4 separate regions of the Homo sapiens genome follow, and regions 2, 3 and 4 are each linked to region 1. Evidence: promoter capture Hi-C in 16 types of primary human blood cells and fetal thymus (Javierre and others, 2016). All regions are on one chromosome and are shown on one strand. The core of a region is centred on a gene start or on the middle of the fragment in contact, and the rest is flanking DNA. Distances in the headings are between cores, read along the strand shown. Region 1 holds the start of ITGB5 (integrin subunit beta 5). Region 2 overlaps OSBPL11 (oxysterol binding protein like 11). Region 3 overlaps SNX4 (sorting nexin 4). Region 4 overlaps SNX4 (sorting nexin 4).

What was found. The method cuts DNA at HindIII sites, captures the fragments that hold promoters and counts their contacts. A CHiCAGO score of 5 or more calls a contact.
Region 2: a fragment that was not itself captured here is called in contact with the fragment with the promoter of ITGB5 in region 1 in 1 of 17 cell types (fetal thymus); the score reaches 5.2 in fetal thymus.
Region 3: a fragment that was not itself captured here is called in contact with the fragment with the promoter of ITGB5 in region 1 in 2 of 17 cell types (total CD4 T cells and naive CD4 T cells); the score reaches 6.0 in total CD4 T cells.
Region 4: a contact is called between a fragment that was not itself captured here and the fragment with the promoter of ITGB5 in region 1, in 6 of 17 cell types (activated CD4 T cells, fetal thymus, total CD8 T cells and 3 more). The highest score is 9.0, in activated CD4 T cells.

The regions. Positions count from the first base shown.
Region 1 is chr3:124,884,152-124,889,558 of GRCh38, forward strand. It overlaps ITGB5 (integrin subunit beta 5), which reads right to left and starts at 3,214. Exons shown (of 15, transcript NM_002213.5): 1 at 2,780-3,214. The coding sequence starts at 2,849. RefSeq lists enhancers at 1,054-1,938, 3,707-4,589, 4,590-5,407 and silencers at 2,603-2,692, 3,153-3,592. The HindIII fragment of the contact is 6,734 bases long and covers 165-5,407 here.
Region 2 is chr3:125,561,481-125,566,887 of GRCh38, forward strand. OSBPL11 (oxysterol binding protein like 11) reads right to left here. Exons shown (of 13, transcript NM_022776.5): 7 at 2,218-2,363. Among named protein-coding and RNA genes, the nearest start is that of OSBPL11, 31 kb to the right of the region's middle. The HindIII fragment of the contact is 1,533 bases long and covers 1,567-3,099 here.
Region 3 is chr3:125,472,371-125,477,777 of GRCh38, forward strand. SNX4 (sorting nexin 4) reads right to left here. Exons shown (of 14, transcript NM_003794.4): 8 at 4,325-4,386. Among named protein-coding and RNA genes, the nearest start is that of SNX4, 45 kb to the right of the region's middle. The HindIII fragment of the contact is 220 bases long and covers 2,530-2,749 here.
Region 4 is chr3:125,450,520-125,455,926 of GRCh38, forward strand. It overlaps SNX4 (sorting nexin 4), which reads right to left. Exons shown (of 14, transcript NM_003794.4): 12 at 3,291-3,436; 13 at 786-900. Among named protein-coding and RNA genes, the nearest start is that of SNX4, 67 kb to the right of the region's middle. The HindIII fragment of the contact is 4,100 bases long and covers 184-4,283 here.

The DNA of each region.
Region 1 (5,407 bases), core at 1,964-4,463:
AAACACTCCCTGAATAAAGTACCTGTAGTGCTTCAAGAAAACAAAGAAGGGAAGGGAAGCAAAAAAAAAAAAGAAAAAAAAAAAGAATGTTGAAGTTAATTCAGCAACACTGAAAAACTAGGAGAAATGACACAGATGTGAGTCAACCTCTGCTAATCCTGAGAAGCTTCAGGGCCCTAAGAGGTAAGCAGCAAGTTCTGGAGGCCAGTGCCATGGCTTGCTCCACCACCACCACCACCAAAACCTGTAGTCAAAGAGATGGGCAGAGGCCAGCCGTGGTGGCTCACACCTGTAATCCTAGCATTTTGGGAGGCCGAGGCGGGCGGATCACCTGAGGTTGGGAGTTAGAGACCAGCCTGACCAACATGGTGAAACCCTGTCTCTACTAAAAATACAAAATTAGCCAGGCGTGGTGGTACATGCCTGTAATCCCAGTTACTCAGCAGGACAATCACTTGAACCTGAGAGGCAGAGGTTGTGGTGAGCTGAGATCATGCCACTGTACACCATCCTGGGCAACAAGAGTGAGACTCTGTCTCAAAAAAAAAGAAAAGAAAAGATAGGCAATGGGAAAACAGGACCCCAAAAGAGTTGCAAATGAACCACCATGCTCAGTGCTTTTCTCTTCCTTAAGCTGAGTCGGTAGGACAAAGGGCACTGGACCAAAAGCCATGGTCCCTGGTCCACCACTCCTGACCCAAGTAGAGGGGAAGGGCAAGTCACTTCCTTCCTGAGCCCATATGAGAAAATGGACATCACCGTGAAGATGTACGTGAACTCTGAAAAAGAGAAAGCAAGATGCAAGTGGAAAATAATGTATTTTTAGAAATTATTCGCAGCCAGGCGTGGTGGCTCATGCCTGTAATTGAAGCACTTTGGGAGGCCAAGGCAGTTAGATCACCTTAAGTGAGGAGTTCAAGACCAGCCCAGCCAACATGGTGAAACCCCATCTCTACTAAAAATACAAAAATTAGCCGGGCATGGTCGCAGCGCCTGTAATCATTGCTACTTGGGAGGCTAAGCCAGGAGAATTGCTTGAACCTGGGAGGTGGAGGTTGCAGTGAGCCGAGATGGCACCACTGCACTCCAGCCTGGGCTACAAGACTGAAACTCTGACTCAAAAAAAAAAAATTATTTGCAACTAGAAATTATTATTATAATTCTGTTTGTCAGAATTACAGAATGTCAAGCTGGAAAGGAACTTAAAAGCCATCTCCTTTGGCAGTTTCTGAACTTTTGGATTTCAAAGAAAACTAAGATTTAAAAACAAAACAAAAGAAACAAACAGAAAAAGAGAAGGGGAGCTTAACATAGGGTTGTCAGATTTTCTTATTTTGCCAAAATTAAAAACTACTAATATTATTAAGAAGTATTAAAAGAAAATGTTCCCACCAAAAAAAGAAAAAGTGCCTAATTTCAAACTAAAGGAAAGTCCTTGTGGAGCAGGGGAGCGTTGACAACAATACATTCCTGTGTGATGCAGGCTACATCTTCCTGCTCCTCGCTTTCCCTAGGGACCCATGAAAATATCCGTGATGGGCACTGGCTGCCGGATGGGTGTTTGGAATCCACTCATCTACTCTCCAAGCTCTGGAGTGATTATTTTCCCATTTAAAACAAAAACCAAAAACCTTGCTACAGTATTAAGTTTGAATTAGGGTCTGAACGAAGTTATTGTTTGCTCAGACCCCTCCTCCGCTCTTAAACCTAAACCTCCACTGCCTTCATGTAAATGAGACACCGTGGGGGAACAGTCCTCCCTTCGGGCAGCCAGGCAACCACTTGGCTCACAAGAGCAATCAAGTATCTCCGGCTTGAAAGTTAATAGAGCACTATTATTTCCTAAAAGAAAGGAGAAAATCCGCATCCCAAACAAGTGCATCCTTCCTCGAGGGCCTCCAAACTACCACGTCCAATCATCTCCCAACTCTGAAAAGTTAGAGCAGGTAACCGAGGGATCCTTGCAACGCTGCCAGCCCACCGCAGCGTCGGGCTAAGGCAATCTCCACAGCCCCTGTCCTCTGCTCCAGAATCCTCCACAGTTAGGGGAGTGTGAGGCTCCGAGCGTGTGCAAATCGCGGGATAAAGTCGGGCAGAAGGAATTTAATAGGGAAGTCCCAGGTGGGGCTGTGGTTTGGGACGCGGGTGCCCCCTCGGGTTTGCGGTGGCCTAGGCGAGGAGGAAGCAGGCGGGGGGCGGGGAGGGTGGGGGCTGCATCTTCAAAGGCAGGCGGCTAGCCTAGGCGCAGCGAACTCCAGGATTCGCTGTGGGCCCTGTGCACCCGCTGTTCCAGGAGGCGAGCCCTCCGGAGTGGAGGTGGCCCCGGGCTTTGGCTGGGGTTTCGAGACTCCCTTGCTTCTCCGGGAACAGGGCACCGACGGCATCCCCCCAGCAGCCCGCCCGCTCCCGGCCGGCCACAAGGACCGCTTTGTGCCCGCCAACGGAGAGCCCGGGCCCCAAGGCAGGGCTGGCGGCGGTCCTCCCCGTGCCCTGGGCGCGGGCCCTGGCGGGCTAGGTCAGCAGGCCGGCCAGCCTGTTTACACAGGAAGGGAAGCTCCTCCTCAGCCCGGGAGGGAACAGGAGACTCACGACAGCCCGGCGGGGCTGCGCGCGGGGAGCGCCCCGCGGGGCTGTCCCCCAGCGACTGGCCCACCAGGGAGTGCCCCGAAGGCGCCCTCCGCCCTCAGGCACCGCCTGCGCTCCCCGCCCCTCCGAGACGCCCGCCCGCGGCTGAGTGTGCGACAAAGTTTCTCTGGGCGCCGTGGGCGGCGCGGCTTACCTGCGAGCCGGGGCAGGAGCGCGCAGAGCCCCAGGAGGCAGGCGTACAGCGGCGCCGGGGCCCGCGGCATGGTGGGGCGCCTCCCTCAGCGGCGGCGCGGTCGCTGCACTCCGCGGGGGCCGGCGGCCGGGGCTGGGGCCGGAGCGCGGGGGCCGAGGGCCGGGGGCCGCAGCCGCATGCCCCGCGCGCAGCTCCGGCTCACGGCGCCCGCGCTGGCCCGCGCCCCGCCGCCACCATCCGTCCCGCAGCACTCACGGCCGAGTCCCGGGACCGCGGCTGCCCTGGCTGGCCGGCCGGGACTCCTAGTGTGTCGCCGCTCGGGACGGCCCCAGCGGGCTGCTCCGGGTAGGGGAGGGGCTGGCTCCGCTCGGCGGCCGCGACTTGGGCTCCGAGACGCGCCCAGCGCCGAGACTCCCCCGCGCGCCGGCACACTCTGCCCCTGGCCTCCGCCCCTTCCCTTCCTCCCTCCGGCCCGCCAGGCTCCACTTTCCTCCTCTCCTTTCTCCTCCCCTTCTCTCCCCTGCCAGGCCCTCGCCCGGCCGCCACACGGTCAGCTTACGGTGAGGCGGGGCGGGGCGAGCTCCGGGCCGGGCCAGCTCCGCCCTGTGCGGGGACCGGCCCGGGACGCGGAGGCCCTACGGGCCCAGGTGGAAGTCGCTTGCGACTCACTTGGGGCGTGGGGGGCTCGAAACCACTGAGTAGAGCCCGCTCCCGTTGCTTAGCCGCCCGTCGCCACGGGAAAGGGGCGGGGCACGCTGTATTAGGCGAGCCGAGATTACTTGGGCCAAAGGCGGTTGCTAGACTGCGAGAGGGAGAGCAGGTACGGGGGTCGTGCCGGTACCGCCTCATCCTCCCAAAGCCTCACTGCCGGCGGCCTGAGATGGGACGTAGACGCCCGCGCGTGGAACCGCAAAGCGACTTCTGGATGAGCAAGGGAGGGCGTGGTGGGGCGTGGAGGCACAAGTAAAACCTACATTTCTTTTTCTTTTCTTTTTTTTTTTTTTTTGAGACAGCGTCTTGCTCTCACTCAGGCTGGAGTGCACTGGCCCAGTCTTGGCTCACTGCAGCCTGGACCTCCTGGGCTCAAAGGTTCCTCCACCTTAGCCTCCTGAGTAACTGGGACTACAGGCGCGCGCCACCACACCCGGACAATTTTTACATGTTTTGTAGAGATGGGGGTCTCGCTGTGTTGCTCAGGTTAGTCTTGAACTCCTGGGCTCAAGCATTCCTCCTGTGTCTGCCTCCTAAAGTGCTGAGATTACAGGTGCGAGCCACCGTGCCCGGCCCACTTTTCACTTTTTAACTTTTGCACCTTTCAAGGATTTGAGACTGGCCAATATGCCGCTATATTTCGTTGTCCTTACTGATAATCTGTCAGTTTCCATGATCAAACTGATAGACTCAAAAACATATGCTCAGGCTTTCATCTTATCATTTACATATAAGCTGGATCTGAACTAGCCAATAAAGAGTGGGGTGGGGTCTTCCTCAGATGGTGCAGGAAAGGATGCCTTGGGCTTGGATTCGCTACAAGTGCGTTTAGAGTGGAGTGGTTGATAGGCAAGAGAAGAGGCGACATTCAGGTAGGGGAAAATAACGATAGAATACCTACCAAGTACAGAGAGCACACTGCCAGCCAGGCACTGTTCTAAGTCCTTTACCCATATTAACTCATTTCATCCTCCGACAACCCTACTGTTATCCAGTTGAGGAACCGAGGGACAGAGGGGTTAACTGCTGGAGGAAGTGACAGCTAGGATGCCTCGTTCAAAAGTGCAGCATGGCTTGGCTAAAACTGAAGCAGTAAGGGGGAAAGAACAAAGGGGTCTCACCTTTGCAGGCCAGGGACCTGGTGGAAGAATGGCTTGGAGGGCCCAGTGGAAAACTGTCCTAACTGCCCAGCTCAAGGAGTTTGGATGTTAACCTTTATTTCTTGGCCTCCTCCCAAACTCTAACAAGGTGGTGCCTCAATGCCTGAGGAAGTAAACTTCTTGAAGTACAATATAGTGTGCCTGGGGGCAAAGATGCAGCAGTCCATAGCAAGCTCCTTTATAGTATTTGTGAAAGGAAAATAAATCTCAGGGCCCCCAAATCACTAAGCCAGGAGAAAAATCAAGCTGGGAACCGTGTCAGGCAAACCTGCCTCCCATTTTATGCCTAATTAAGATAGCTAAGAAGCTACATACCTCCCTCACAATTTACCCACAGGAAATTCCTTTTGGACAAAGGACAGACAGAACTCAAAGTCATCCCTCTGAGGCTCACCTGAGACAAATGAATACCTGATTGCTCCCTCTGGCCTATTGTTTATGTAAAAATGCAGATTCACTGAGCCAGACTAAATTGTGTATTCAGTGGAAGGCTGATCAAGGACCCAAAAGAATGCAACCTTTTGTCTCTTATCTGCTTCTAACCTGGAAGCCCCCACTTCAAGTTGTCCTGCCTTACAAAACCAAACCAATGTACGTCTTACACATATTGATTGATGTCTCATGTCTCCCTAAAACGTATAAAAGCACACTGTAACCCCGACCACCTTGGGTACATATTGTCAGGACTTCCCGTCACTGGCACATCCTTAACCTTGGCAAAATAAACTTTCTAAATTGACTGAGACTGGTCTCAGAT
Region 2 (5,407 bases), core at 1,083-3,582, 680 kb after region 1:
AACCTATATCCAGTCAGTCACAAATCCAATTGATTTTTCATTTGAAATGCACATAATCTATTCATTTGCCTTCATGTCTACTTCCATATCCTTCTATTCACATTTTATTCCAAGTCGTATCATGTACCAATCTTCTTAAACATAGTACATTCTTACCCATGATCATGACGCTATTGTCATTAAGACTAAACCCTTCTGCATTATTTTTATGTTATTTGGAGGCACAATTTACACTGCATTCTATGGAGCAGTGCTCCTGGAAGCTTCATTCCACAGAGTACAACATGAATAGTGCCATTCAGAGTTGTAAAATCCAAAAATACTGTGATCATTTCCCATAAGCCAGGTGTTCTACTAAATTCATTTTATCCTCATAAGGATCTTACAAGGTAGTATATTATCCCTACCTTACCGATGAGGAAGTTGAAGCTAAGAGTGGTTAATTAATTGGTTCACATGTCAGTGAATGGCATATCCTGGGTTCAAAATTACCAGGCAAGCTTTCTCTTCAATAAACACACATGCCTTAGGATCCTTGCTAGTGTTAGTCCTTCATCTTGAGATTCCCATTCTCTTCCTCCTCCCTTCAAATCCTGTCTCCTTTCAAAGCCCAATTCCAATCCCACTTTCTCCCCAAAGCATTTCTCATGTACCCGACTCAATATGTCTTCTTCCTTTCTCTGAATGCCCCTATCCCAATAGCCTACATGGTATCAATTAAGAAAAAAATATATTGCTTTATATTATCATCTCATTTTAGTGTATATGTTGTGACTCCAAGCAGATTATAAGTCTCTTCAGTGAAAAACCTGTATCTTCTAATTTTTGCTTCTCCTCTAATTCTTAGCATTGTACTTGCCATATACTAAGCTTAATAAATACTTACTAACTGCTGTTTCTACAAATAAGCCAGTCAAACAGCTACAGAGAAATAAGCATTTTATACATTATTGTTTTTTCTTCTCCCCTGCCAACCCTTGCCTGCAATGCCTGTCTTATCAAGCCAAAACTTTTGCCAACTTTGGAAGTCCCTGTGCCATATATTTCTTTAAAGAAGTAATTTACGAATATATAAAGTACCATAAACTATGCATTACTCTTGACTCAGTAATGCTACTTGGTAATATAACTTAAAGAGATAACCTAAGAAAAAAAATAGGAGAAGGCCGGGTGCGGTAGCTCACACCTGTAATCCCAGCATTTTGGGAGGCTGAGGTGGGTAGATCACCTGAGGTCCAGAGTTCGAGACCAGCCTGACCAACATGGAGAAACCCCTTCTCTACTAAAAATACAAAATTAGCTGGGCATGGTGGCGCATGCCTGTAATCCCAGCTACTAGGGAGGTTGAGGCAGGAGAATCACTGGAACCCCGGAGGCGGAGGTTGCGGTGAGCTGAGATTGTGCCATTGCACTCCAGCCTGGGCAATAAGAGCGAAACTCCATCTCAAAAAAAAAGGAGAAAAAGTTGGAAACAAGATAATAAAGTGTTATTTATAATTAAAAAAAAAACCCTCCAAACAATCTAGATATTCAACAATAGGGACATTAACTCAATAGACTATTTCAAGCTTTAATTATACAGACCAGTACAACATAGGAAAATGCTTATCAAGTAAAAATAGCTTAAAATAACAGATGTGAACACAAAAGGCAAAAATATCAATATGATTTGTTACAGTGGTAGATTATGAATAGAATAAAACACTCTTCAGCTTCTAAGAAATGTGAAATGAATAATAGTTTATAAAAATATAAACCCTAAGATTATGTGCTATTTTAAGTAGGGTAATACTTGAAACAACTGGCTTGGTAAAGTGCTTACTATGAAAAAGACTCAACTTTTAAGATTATAAACTTAATAATAAATAATGTTAAGATAATAGGTTAAGAAACATAAGAGACAAACATTGTGCAAATCTCATTAGATAAGTTATTTTCTAGAAAAAGAAAAACATAAATTTCAATTTTTAAAATATATTTTTATCAAGCAAAAGTAAACTAAAAGTTAAAAGGGCATATAATTTAACCTGGAAAATTCAACAAGTTTAATATAAGAGACCTCTTCAAAAACAATGCAGTTTAAAATGTTTTAGAATCTTCAAGAGTGTTGCTCAGGTGTTAAGTTGATGTGCATGAGCTGACAATGAAAAGAAAACTGACCCTTTTTCAGTGATACCTAATTTTTCACATCAAAATCATATTTTTATATTACCTTACCCTCGCTAATAGTCCAGATTCTGCAACAGGCTGCTCTTCTGGGACTGCCACCGGCTTACTCTGATCAGTTGCAAAGGGCTGGTCAGCTCCATTTTTATAGTGGTTTGATAAAGATATCTTTGGTTCTAACCACTCGATTGTCGTTCCTGATGGAGTAAGAGAAAACTTTCGCTGAAACTTGCTCATAATCTAGAAAGTTCGGCAGATGTGGATTTTAACAATTTTGTTTTGAGCCTACAAGCCTAAAAGCAATTAAACCTGTTAAGAGACCCTGCAAGACAGCCACTTATATCTCATTAGCATGAGCACCATGATTGGGTATTTTACAACAGAGCAACTTGCAACTTGATATCAGATACTATTTAAAAGAAATCAACCCTGAATAGGACTGAATTTACTTCTTGGACAAGTCTGTGAATCACGAAGTATATTCCCAACCTAACAGTTGATTTGTTGTCTTTGTCCCTCTACTGATTAAAAAATATGCAATTAGGCTTTAGAGAGGCACAGCTACAGGAGGAGTCTGGGACTGTGAAACAGTAAGATTTGTTTCAATTTGGGATCGAGTCTTACTCTCAGCAACAATTGTCTAACCAATCAAAATAATCCCCCGGATCTAATTTAAGAATTGCAAATACATGTCCTTTTTCGAAATCATTTTTTAAAAAGCCCCATACAACTTAAACTGAAAGACTCTTCTACTGAATAAATAATAACTGACCCAGTGAAGACAGTGGTCACATTTGGAGACCTGTCATCTTCTCGGTTAATGATTCAAATGTCTCTTGTTACCCTCGACTAGTTTAACAAAGTGGATTCTATGCCTAATCAATAATGGAAAATGTTCCATTTGATTTCAGTTGCTGATCTAGGTTTCACAGAAGCTTGGTTATAGAGTGCTATAATAAGGGATGCTCAGACTACTACAGCAGAAATGTAGGAGTAGGAAATGTATTATCCTTTTTTTTTTTTTTTGAGACAGAGTCTTGCTCTATTGCCCATGCTGGAGTGCAGTGGTGCAATCTCAGCTCACTGCAACCTCCACCTCCCAGGTTCAAGTGATTATCCTGCCTCAGCCTCCCGGGTAGCTGGGACTACAGGTGCTCACCACCATGCCTGGCTAATTTTTGTATTTTTGGTAGAGACGGAGTTTCACCATGTTGGCCAGGCTGGTCTTGAACTCCTGACCTCAGGTGATCTGCCTGACTCCGCATCCCAAAGTGCTGGGATTACAGGCGTGAGCCACCATGCCCGGCCACAAATGAAATTTAGTATTTAATTAATCAAGTATTTATTGAGCATCTAATATCTAGTGCTGTGTTACTTGACATACTTTTAAAAAATTAAGTAAGCCTGGGCAACACAGACAGACTCCATCTCTACAAAAACTAAAAGGAATTAGCCAGCCATGGTGGCATGTGCCTGTAGTCCTAGCTACTTGGGGGGCTAAAGCAGGAGAATAGCATGAGCCTGGGAGGTTGAGCTGCAGTGAGCCATGATGGTGCCACTGCACTCCCGCCTGGGCAACAGAGTGAGAAGAAATATAAAATAAAAAATATATAATATATTGTCTTAAAAATAAGCAAATAATTAAGTAGTATAAACTGGAAACAAACTGTTTCATTTGACTGAGAATTATGATTACCAACACTAGAATTAACCCAAATTTCATAGCTAAGCCTAACTCATCCAATGTTCAACACAGGGATATAGTTAAGTAAACCAAAATACACTTGTCTCCTCAAAGGAATATAAATACTAAGCAAATTTATAAATAGCATATGATTGGAAAACATTTTTGATGTAAAGTGAAAAAAGATACAAACGTATATTTTCCAATAACAACAGGGCAAAAGAAACAAAAACTAAGAAGAAAAAAGAGAAAACCTGGGATGGGGAGTATACTAATATATCAACAGTGGTGGTTTCTGGTTGGTAGGACAATGCATATTTTTTGTTTCTTCTTTTGACTCTACAGTATTTTCTATAATGAGTATGTTGCTTTGTAAGAAGAGAAAATTTATATTGAACTACTTACAATTCCTACAAGTCATGAATTCACGTTCACAACTCACAATTTAGACTCTTCTATCACTTTGGAATGCCCTTTCCTCTACCTCTCACTCCTAAACTATGAATGCCCTTTCCTCTACCTCTCACTCCTAAACTATGAATGCCCTTTCCTCTACCTCTCACTCCTAAACTAATCAGTCTTTGCAGCTTCTCTGTGCCTTTCTCAGAACTCTTTCTACCAGTCATTCAGCTATTCTCCCACAGTTTGTTCCTTTTGGTAGTAGCACCCTACACGTTATTATTATTATTTTTGAGATGGAGTCTCACTCTTGTCACCCAGGCTGGAGCGCAGTGGCACGATCTGGGCTCACTGCACCCTCCGCCTCCTGGGTTCAAGCGATTCTCCTGCCTCAGCTTCCTGAGTAGCTGGGATTACAGGCGCCTGCCACCATGCCCAGCTAATTTTTGTACTTTTAGTAGAGATGGGGTTTCACCATGTTGGCCAGGCTGGTCTCAAACTCCTGACCTTAGGTGACCCGCCTGCCTCAGCTGCCCAAAGTGCTGAGATTACAGGTGTGAGCCACCGTGCCTGGCCCCTACACATTATTTTATACTTATTATTTACATATTTCTTCCCTAAGTGGACTATGAATTTTTTAAGAGGAACATACATAACTGATTGGCCTTTCTCAATAGTGCCCTAACCTGCAACTACAATTGCCACTAAAAACAGTTTGTTGGCCGGAATTGTTGAATTTAGGCACACATGAGGATGAGGTCCATCCTATATCCATCTGAGTAAGGGAAACTGTCTCCTGAGCAGAGACTCTACCTTTCTAAAATACCTTTCTTTTATGAGTAAGGTGAATTAGTTAAATAACAGAACAAAGAGATGTAAGGTATTAAGTTACTATCATCACTAGCATTATTAAGTTATTGCTCATACAATGTGATGAGCATCTTATTTATAGAAAGACTCATTTTTTGTAGTCCCGTGCAATAACATTTCCCTAGCACAATTAATTTCAACAAATAGATGTTCTCAAATAGTGGACATATATATATGTGTGTATATATATATATATTTTTTTTTTAATGGGGTCTCATTCTGTCACCCAGGCTGGAGTGCAGTGGTGGGATCATAGCTTACTGCAGCCTTGGACTCCTGGGCTCGGGA
Region 3 (5,407 bases), core at 1,390-3,889, 590 kb after region 1:
CTGCTCAGCAATCCTTTCCACATTCCGAAGTGTTGCCTTCATCAGTGCTTCTCAAGCTGGGATGTTTTCATCATGGATATTGGAAGCCATATAATAGACATGGCACACTCTTTCTGAAGAATAAATTTTACTTAAACATTAGTGGGGAAAAATAAACTTTTAAAAATAAATATTAAAGTATCCATACAATGTAGATTTTGCATGAATTGATAAAACTCAAGCCTTCAGAGAGTTCCTGCACTTGGTACAGCTGCTTCTGGCCAATGTCATGTGAATTGGTGAAGGGAGGTAAAGGAGGTTTTGCAGTAGGACAAGTTTAAGTATTATTGGCACCCCTCCCTCCAATCCCCCAAAAGAGAATTCTCTGCACTGTTTGAGACAGACTGCCCAATGTCATTCCCCTCAATCCCCACAACCACACAATTACACAAACTTGTTCTCAAAAAAGATACCTACTTCACGGTGCCTTCTACAACTCACCTCTCCCCTGCCTTAAGACAGCTCTGCACCTTCCCTATCTTCTCCCTTGTCCATGCTCCTATCCCTCCCCTGTCCACCATCCCACCCCAGCCCCAGCCTCTTCTCAAAAAAGTCTTATTACCCTTCAAAAATAACCACAGTTCATCTTTTTCCTCAGGCACTTTTGAAAAAAAAAAATTCAACTTTTATTTTGGACTCAGGAAGTACATGTACATGTGCAGGTTTGTTACATGTGTACACTGGATGGTGTGAAGATTTCAGATACAAATGAGCCCATCACCCACACAGTGAGCACAGCGCCCAATAGTTAGTTTGTCAACCCTTGTCTCCTTCCACCCTCCCTCCCCGCTCTGGCAGTTCCCGGTGTCTACTGTTGCCATCTTCACATCCATGAGTAGGGACTTTCTTAAAAGACTAATCAATAACTTGCTGTCTTTCCTTCCTTAATCCTTTCCTCTTATTCCTAGATCACTAGGACATAACATCATACCACTTAAACTGCTTTCCAAATTAACACCAAAGATGTACTTACCCATTTTCCCCCTTCTCATCTAAACTCAATTCTCTTTTTTGTTTTTTTTTTGAGATGGAGTCTTGCTCTGTCACCCAGGCTGGAGTGCAGCAGCACAATCTCGGCTCACTGCAACCTCCACCTCCTAGTTCAGGCAATTTTCCCACCTCAGCCTCCCAAGTAGCTGGGATTACAGGCACACGCCATCATGCCCGGCTAATTTTTGTATTTTTAGTAGAGATGAGGTTTCACCATATTGGCCAGGCTGGTCTTGAACTCCTGACCTCAAGTGATCTGCCCGCATCGGCCTCTCAAAGTGCTGGGATTACAGGCATGAGCCACTGTGCCTGGCCTAAATTCAATTTCTCTACAGTATAACTCCAAGCATTATTGAAGTGTTCCCTTCACTTGCTTGACTTTGAATACTCCATGTTCCTCATCAATTTCTTGCCTGATCCCTGAACGCAGATATTCCCTTGAGTCTCTTGTAGACTTGCTCTAACCCTCTAATATTATCAACTAACTCTATGTTTTAAAAAATCACTCTATAAGGACACACTTTATATATACAACTCATATTCTCACTAGCTTCTTAAATTCCTGATCCAAATTTCTAACTGCTTAATAAAAATCTTTAGTTAGAATGCAATTTATCCACATGAGAACCCTCAACCTCATCCCTCAAACCCACCATTCCACCTACATTCTCTATCACAAATCCTTAGGCACTCAACTGCCCTAAATTAAATCTTGGTATTCTTGGCACCTACCATGGTAACAGGAGCTCAGTTACCGTATGCTGAATGACTGAAAAAAATCCACTGGTAAGTCTATCATTTAGGTCTCTTTATTCTTCACTGGCAACTGCTGTAGTTCAGGTCTTGATTAAATTACCTCAACCACCTCTGGTCTTTCTGGCTCAGTTGTCGTAAGATGTTTTTATTTATTATCTATTTTTGTTTTTATTTTTTTGAGAGACAGGGTGTTGCTCTGTCACCTGGGCTGGAGTGCAGTGGTGTGATCATAGCTCACTATAACCTTGAACTCCTGGGCTCAAGTGTTCCTCCCATCTTAGCCTCCCAAGCAGCTAGGACTATAGGCATGTGCCACCATGCCTAATTTTTAAACTATTTTTGTAGAGATGGGGTCTTGCTATGTTGCCAAGGCTTGTCTTGAACTCCTGGCCTCAAGTGATCCTCCTTCCTTGGCCTCCCAAAGTGCTAGGATTACAGATGAGAGCCACCACATCCAGCCTCATGAAATTTTTTAAATGTAAAGTGGCTTTCTAATAATTTATTAAGCTGGCAAAAAAAACAAACCTGTACAATATTTATCATGTGGCATTAATGCAAATAATTTTCTTTAAAGTTTGATTCAACCAATTGATCTTTTGTCTACCTGCCTCTCAAATTAATTAAAAAGTTCATTTATTAACTATAATAAATGTGCTACCTTTGAGAATGTTTAGTTTATGTTAATTCCCCCCCACATGTCTCCTATGGGATATAATTTTTGTTTTTAAATAAGCATTGTTCCCAAGCTTAATTGGGTTCCAGTTTGAGTAATACTAAAAATTAGAGATGACTTGTGCATAAAACTAAAAGCAATTAATATTAAGTCAGACAGTATGAGGTAGACTTCAAAACGTATAATACTATTTGTCTTTCTTCCCATTATACTATTCTTTTACAGTTGACCATATATTTTCATAGACCCTGGTCCTAGTTATGAAGAGTTTACATTTTTATAATATCAATAAGCTTCTTTTAATTAAAAAAGTCATATAACCTTGATCTGTCTCAACTGACATTTAATTTTAATGTATTGATCAACCAAAGACATATGGATAACCTACTACTCTAATAAATGAATTAAATAAATTTAAATCTCTATCTCACATCTTACATTCAAATAAATTATAGCTGAATCAAAAATTTATGAAACCACAAAATACAGAAGAAATGAGAATTTTTTTTCCCACCTAGAACCCACCACCTGAGAAAAAATTTTTTTCATTTTTTGAGATGGAGTCTCACTCTGCCGCCCAGGCTGGAGTGCACTGGTGTGATCTCAGCTCACTGCAACCTTCACTTCCTGGGTTCAAGCGATTTTCCTGAGTCAGTCTCCTGAGTAGCTGGGATTATAGGAGCCCACCACCATGCCTGGCTAATTTTTGTATTTTTAGTAGAGATGAGGTTTCACCATGTTGGCCAGGCTGGTCTCAAACTCCTGACTTCAGGTGATCCACCCGCCTTGGCCTCCCAAAGTGCTGGGATTATAGGCATGAGCCACCACGCCTGGCTGAGAAAATTTTTTAATAATCCGAAGTAGGGGACCAGGCATGGTGACTCATGTCTGTAATCCTAGCACTATGGGGGGCCGAAGCCAATGGATCACCTGAGCTCAGGAGGTCAAGATCAGCCTGGGCAACATAGTAAAGTCCCATCTCTGCAAAAAAATACAAAAAGTAGCAGAGCATGGTGATGTGTGTCTGTGGTCTCAGCTACTTGGGAGGCTGAAGCAGGAGGATCACTAGAGCCTGAGAGGCAGAGGTTGCAGTGAGCCAAGACCTACACCACTGCACTCCAGCCTCGGTGACAAAGTGAGACCCTGTATTAAAAAAAAAACCGGGTGCAGTGGCATACACCTGTAATCCAGCATTTTAGGAGGCCGAGGCGGGTGGATCACGAGGTCAGGAGTTCAAGACCAGCCTGGTCAACATGGTGAAATCCCATCTCTACTAAAAATACAAAAAAATAGCCAGGTGTGGTGGCAGGTGTCTGTAATCCCAGCTACTTGGGAGGCTGAGGCAGAGAACTGCTTGAAACCAGGAGGCAGAGGTTGCAGTGAGCTGAGATTGCGCCACTGCATTCCAGCCTGGGCGACAGAGCAAGACTCCATCTCAAAAAAAAAAAAAAAAAAAAAAAGGGCTGGGTGCAGTGGCTTATATCTGTAATCCCAGCACTTTCGGAGGCCTAGGCAGGCAGATCACTTGAGGTCAGGAGTTCGAGACCAGCCTGACCAACACGGTGAAACCCCATCTCTACTAAAAATACAAAATTAGCCCAGTGTGGTGGCGCATGCCTGTAATCCCAGCTACTGGGGAGGCTGAGGCAGGAGAATCACTTGAGCCCAGGAGGCGGGGGTTGCAGTGAGCCGAGATCACATCATTGCATCAGCCTGGGTGACAAGAAAGAAACTCCATCTCAAAAAACAAAAACAAACAAAAAAAGAAATAATCTTCTCTCCACACTCATAAATGTTCAAGAATTATTGTTTTCAGGCAAAAAGGTAATTAAAGCTAATTATTTTTAAAGTTTGTATGATGCTTACCTGAAAACTCGACCATAATTCCCATGTACTTTATATACACCATAGAGTCGATCTGCTACTCTCTGAAATAAATATTTAATAGAAATTGCTTTTAGGTCAAAGTTATATCCTCATCTAAAAAATAGACCCAAAAAACAAAAAACATGCTTACTACAATAAACTTGGAAATAGAAAAAAGAAAAATAGTAATCTCCAAAAATCCCATCCCCCTAAAACTAAAACCAGTGCTCTTACCATATTTATCATATCTTATACTTTTGTACTTCTTTTTCTGCAAAGTTTTTAATTACTGTTTTTAAATTGCCTACAGCAAGAGTGGTAATATGCTTACCCATCAGGTATTTAATAAATACCACTATAAATAGTTGCATAAAATTCCACTAAGTAGTATATAAGACATACAAGCATTCCTTGTTGAATAATCTTGTTGGGATTCAGTTATTCTTAATTTTTCAGTATTATAAAAAGTTATCTCTGAGAATAAGCCTTTTTCCCTCAGATTGTTTCCTTATAATAAAATCCCCAAAGTGGAATTAACCAAGGGAACGGATACATTTTCAATTCTATTGAGATATAGTTTTATATATAAATGCTGAATACATGCATATACTTCTATGCTACTTTGTCAAAAGATAACTCCTAACCAACGAACACATTATTTTAATAACAACAGAATTACAATTTACATCACTGAAATGTGTACTGCCTAGCCATTCACAGAAATTTTACAAGTTAAAACAAAACCTCAATATGGTAATTAATTTGCTTTACGTTCCCCCAAAGCATTATGAAAACAAACTGGAAGACCAAAGGCTCATCCTACAAAAAGCTCTAGAAAAAATTTCTGGTATACAGTTTCTAAGTATAAGCTCTAAGGATAAATTAGCTCCCTGATTCCTTACTCAAACATGAGTATGAGGAATTAGACATTAATGATAGAACAAATCAACCCTTTCAAGATCTCATCTTACAGTGACAGAACCGCCACTGCAAATACTTCAAGTAGGTGTATGAGGATCATAAAATGTTTTCCATCTATTGTTGGCCTGCTCTGAGGAAACACGTACCCACTAGACTAGGGGT
Region 4 (5,407 bases), core at 984-3,483, 570 kb after region 1:
AATGCATGTAAAAGTGCTTGATAAATTATGACAGGTGATACAAATCAAAGCACTGGTACTGGTAGTCACACTGGCAGATCTTAGGTTATAAAAAAGAGGTTAAGGAATGTTTCCTATTTTGTTCTTAAACCAACGTTTTAGAAAGTCTTCCATCATTGTCAAACATTTATTTTAACTAGAATAAGCTTCAATGTTTGTATCTTTCACTATGGATATCAGCAACACAAATGATTTACTTTATGAGGAAGCATATCATAACCAGGTCTTCACGAAATAATGTTCAAGCTATTTTCCAATCAAAGCATATACCTGGAATGGTATTTTACTGTCTGGTCCAAGAGTACCATATGATCTAAATAATCTTGGTATATATTCTCAAATACAAGTTATAAATGGAGATACAAATTTGGACTTTAGATGAGTGGAGACTCAGTAATGGGCATACTGGTTGTAACACCAGTAGAGGCTGGACATGGTGGCTCGCACCTGTAATTGCAGCACTTTGGGAGGCCGAGGCAGGAGGACTATATGAGGCCAGGAGTTCGAGACCAGCCTGGGCAACATAGCGAGACCCCCCCATATCTATTTTTTAAATATTTAAAATTTTAAAATAAAAAAACCAAAACAAAATAAAACAGAAATCCTACAAAATTAAAATAGAGAAATTGGTAAACATTCTACAAGAGAAGAATAAAAATGAAAAATTTTTTGGTCAGGTAATTTAAATACATGTATAAGCACTTCTGAATATACATATATCTTCACTGAAACAGGAAAAACCCTACCTTTTTGCACATACTGATCTGCATGACTGCATAGCTTATGAGGGCCTCCTTTAAGTCTCGGTTCTTTTGTTCTTTGAAGCGTTCAATATCAGCCCATGCGTTTTTCACAAATTCTCTGAAATAAAAGGTATAGCCATTATTATTATTTAAGTTAAATAAACTGTGTACTAAAAAGTTAACCAGTTCTCATTGGCGTTGGTTTTTAATTGCCTATGTAGAAGGAAGAGTTATTGCTTGTATAAGACAGTTTTTTTATTTTCCTAAAAATTATAGTTAGGGAAAAAGCAAACAGACAGTCATATATTCTTGTACCTTTTAATCTACTTTTTCTTTTTTTTTTGAGACAGAGTCTCACTCTGTTGCCCAGGCTGGAGTGTAGTGGCGTGATCTTGGCTCACTGCAGCCTCTGCATTCCGGGTTTGAGCAATTCTCCTGCCTTAGCCTCCTGAGTAGCTGGGATTACAGGCACACGCCACTACGCCCAACTAATTTTTGTATTTTTAGTAGAGACAGGGTTTCACCATGTTGGCCAGGCTGGGCTTGAACACCTGAGCTCAGGTGATCTGCCCACCTCAGCCTCCCAAACTGCTGGGATTACAGCGTGAGCCGCTGCACCTGGCCTAATAATCTAAGTTTTTGCCACAAGGATTCTACCTTTAAATTATTCCTATAAAATACACATAGATGACTCCTTAAGCCAGCTCACAAACCTAACAGGTGTCAGTCACAATGAAGTAAGTGCCTTCCAGGGGTCACTGGAAAATATACACTCTTTTGACAAGATGGATTATGAATCACGTTTAGCATTTTTTTTTTTTTGAGACCAAGTCTCGCTCTGTAGCCCAGGCTGGAGTGCAGAGGCGTGATCTTGGCTCACCACAACCTCCACATCCAGGGTTCTTGCCTCAGTCTCCAGAGTAGCTGGGATTACAGGCACACGCCACTGCACTCGGCTAATTTTTTGTATTTTTAGTAGAGACAAGGTTTCACCATGTTGGCCAGGCTGGTCTTGAACTTCCGACCTCAGGCAATCCACTCTCCTAGGCCTCCCAAAGTGCTAGGATTACAGGTGTGAGCCACCACGGCCAGCTGCATGTACTTGTTTTAAATCACAACCAAAGTTTAAAAACTTTTTTAGCCAGGCTTGGTAGCCGGTAGTCCCAGTGATTCGGGAGGCTGAGATGGGAGGATCACTTGAGCCCTGGACTTTGAGGTGGCAGCGAGCAACAATGGCACCACTGCACTCCGGCCTGGGCAGCAGGGTGAGACTCCGTCTCAAAAAAATGAAAAATAATAATAAAAATTAAAATCCCGAGAGGTATTTGTTTTTGGAGACAGAGTTTCACTCTGTCGCCCAGGCTAGAGTGCAGTGGCGTGATCTCCGCTCACTGCAAGCTCCACCTCCCAGGTTCACACCATTCTCCTGCCTCAGCCTCCCGAGTAGCTGGGACTGTAGGCGCCTGCCACCGCGCTCGGCTAATTTTTTTGGTTTTTAGTAGAGACAGGGTTTCAGCATGTTAGCCAGGATGGTCTCAAACTCCTGACCTCATGATCCACCCACCTCAGCCTCCCAAAGTGCTGGGATTACAGGCATGAGCTACCGCGCCCGGCCTGTCTTTTTTAATTCTATCTATTACTTTGCCATATTTGGTGCTAGTAGTTCTAAAAATGAACAAAACCACCTCAAAACCCAAAATACACTCTTGGTCTGCCTTGGTCTATTCACTGACTGTCAGATGAAAACAAAAATAAGAAAAATGAGTCAAACAGTGATAGTGGGTCTCTGAGAACTGAATTTCTAGAAATACTTATGTAACAATTACATGCTAAGCCCTATGTAAGGCACTGGGATGTGAATGTGGAAAAGATACAATCACTGACTTTGAAGGGCTTAAATTTAGCCAGGGATAGTCACACAGAACAATCAATCATCTAATACAAAACTGCCATACCATACTGGCATGAATTAAATGCCGTGATAGCCTGAGAAGGCTTCACAATGAAGTAACACTTCAGCTGGGTACTGAAGGAGGGGAGGGGAGAAGAAATGGTGGAGGGAAAGTACAAAGGGTAGAAATCAGGAATAGTGCAGGAAAATAATATTATGAAGTTGAAACTTTTATTTCTCTTTCCCCCACATTGAAACAACTGTTTCTATAACATTATTTTTGATAATTCAACTTTCTTTTATTTTTATTTATTTATTTATTTATTTATTTATTTCTGTAGAGACAGGGTCTTCCTACGTTGCCCAGGCTGGTCTCAAACTCCCAGGCTCAAGCAATCCTCCCACCTCAGCCTCCTAAAGTGTCAGGATTACAGGCGTGAGCCACCACACCCAGCGTGATAACTCAAATTTCTTAGGAATGCATTTTAAAGGAATAGGCTGTATTCAGGGATGCCAATGAAGCTGGGAATTGTTACCAAAATAAATAAATAAATAAATAAAATAATCTACCATATAGTCTACAAGCCTAGCTTACTTAAACATCGCAGCATCTTTACCTGCCTTCCAGATTTTTAGACTTTAGCTGTTGTTCTCCTTCATTTATTTGTTCTTCTAGCACCTTTATTCTGGCTTCTCTCTGCTCTGGAGTTTCTTGACCAAAGAGCTTGGTAGTCATTCCCTTCAAAGAGAATGTTCTCACAGTCTAAAAGGAAACAGAAACAGATGAATGGATAAACAAAATGCGGCATACACATACACATACAATGGAACATTATTCAGCCTTTAAAAGGAATCAAATCTGATATATGCTACAACATGGATAAACCTGCAGGACATTATGCTAAGTGAAATAAGACAGATACAAAAAGACAAATACTGTATGATTCCACTTATATGAGACACCAGTGTTTACACTGTATTAGGTATTAATAATCTAGAGATAATTTAAAGCAGGGGGTCCCCAACCCCAGAGCCACGGAGTGATACCAGTCCATGGCCTGTTTGGAACCAGGCTGCATAGCAGGAGGCAAGCGACCACCTGAGCTCTGCCTCCTGTCAGATCAGCAGCAGAGGCATTAGATTCTCTTAGGAGCACGAACCCTATTGTGAACTGCGCATGTGAGGGATCCAGGTTGTGTGTTCCTTGTGAAAATCTAATGCCTGAGATGATCTGAAATGAAACAGTTTCATCCCGAAATCATCCTCAGCACCCCCTGCCCTGGTCCATGGAAAAACTGTCTTCCACAAAACAGGTCCCTAGTGCCAAAAAGGTTGGCGACTGCTGATTTAAAGTATACAAAAGGATATGCACAGGTTACATGCAAATACTACACCATTTTATAGAAGGGACTTAAGCATCTGAGGATTTTGGTATCCCAGGGATCCTTAAACCAATCTCACTGAAGATACTGAGGGATGACTGCACTACTGAACTATATACTTAAAAATGGACAAGATGGTACATTTTATGTTATATATATTTCACTACACACACAAAGGAAATAGAAAACATTTGCCATATTTCCCCTAAGTCAGACAAAACCACCATAAGCTTCACAACCAGGGATCTCTTATATGAGTTTTTATTTATTTTTACAGAGTCATAGCCAAGAATCCTAATAGAATTTCTAACACTGAAATAATATGGAGTAGTCAAAAAGAAGACACTTCTAACTGAATTTCTTTTTTTTTTTGAAATGGGGTCTTGCTCTGTTGCCCAGGCTAGAATGTAATGGCACAATCATGGCTCACTGCAGCCTCAACCTCCTGGGCTCAAGTGATCCTCCCACCTCTGCCTCCCAAGTGGCTGGGACCACAGGTGCATGCCACCACACCCAGCTAATTTTTAAATTTTTGGTAAAGACAGGGTCTAGCTATATTAATCCACACTGGTCTCAAATTCCTGGGCTCAAGCAATTCTGGGTTTACGCCTCTGCTGCTAAAGGTGTCGGGATTGCCATTGTAAGCTACCATACCCGGCTTGAATTTCATAATCAAATGGAAAACTTCCACGTGAAATATTAGACGTTATTTCTTACTCTGTATGAATGATATTTTAAAAATTACTTTATGTTATAAAAAAAGTCGATAAATTCACTAGGCAACTATGGAAATAAACCAAACTAAAGAAGCATATTTAAAATCTGCATAACTCAACGCTCAAACTTGGGCATCTATTAATAAAACAGGATACCTAAATCCAAGCATGGGAAGGCAACCCCAAGCTTCACTGCTTTAACATTTCCTCACTCTCTGGAGTTTACTGAAGAAAACACTTTTCCCTTGACATGTAGGATAGAGAACCAAGCTCCCTGAAAATGGCCTGGGAACTTCTCCCACTGAGTTTTAAAAATAAACCAAGGGCCTAGTTTATACATGTGTCCTGGTCACAAGTCTTTCCCCACATATATCTGTGACTTTTCACAGATGTAGCCAGTGGGTAATCTCTGTGAAAAGCACTTTTAAAACTATAGTGCTTGGCCAGGCGCGCTGGCTCATGCCTATAATCCCAGCACTTTGGGTGGCCGAGGCGGGCGGATCACGAGGTCAGGAGATTCAGACCATCTTGGCTAACATGGTGAAACCCCGTCTGTACTAAAAGTGCAAAAAAAAAATTGGTCGGGCGTGGTGGCAGGCGCCTGTAGTCCCAGCTATTCAGGAGGCTGAGGCAGGA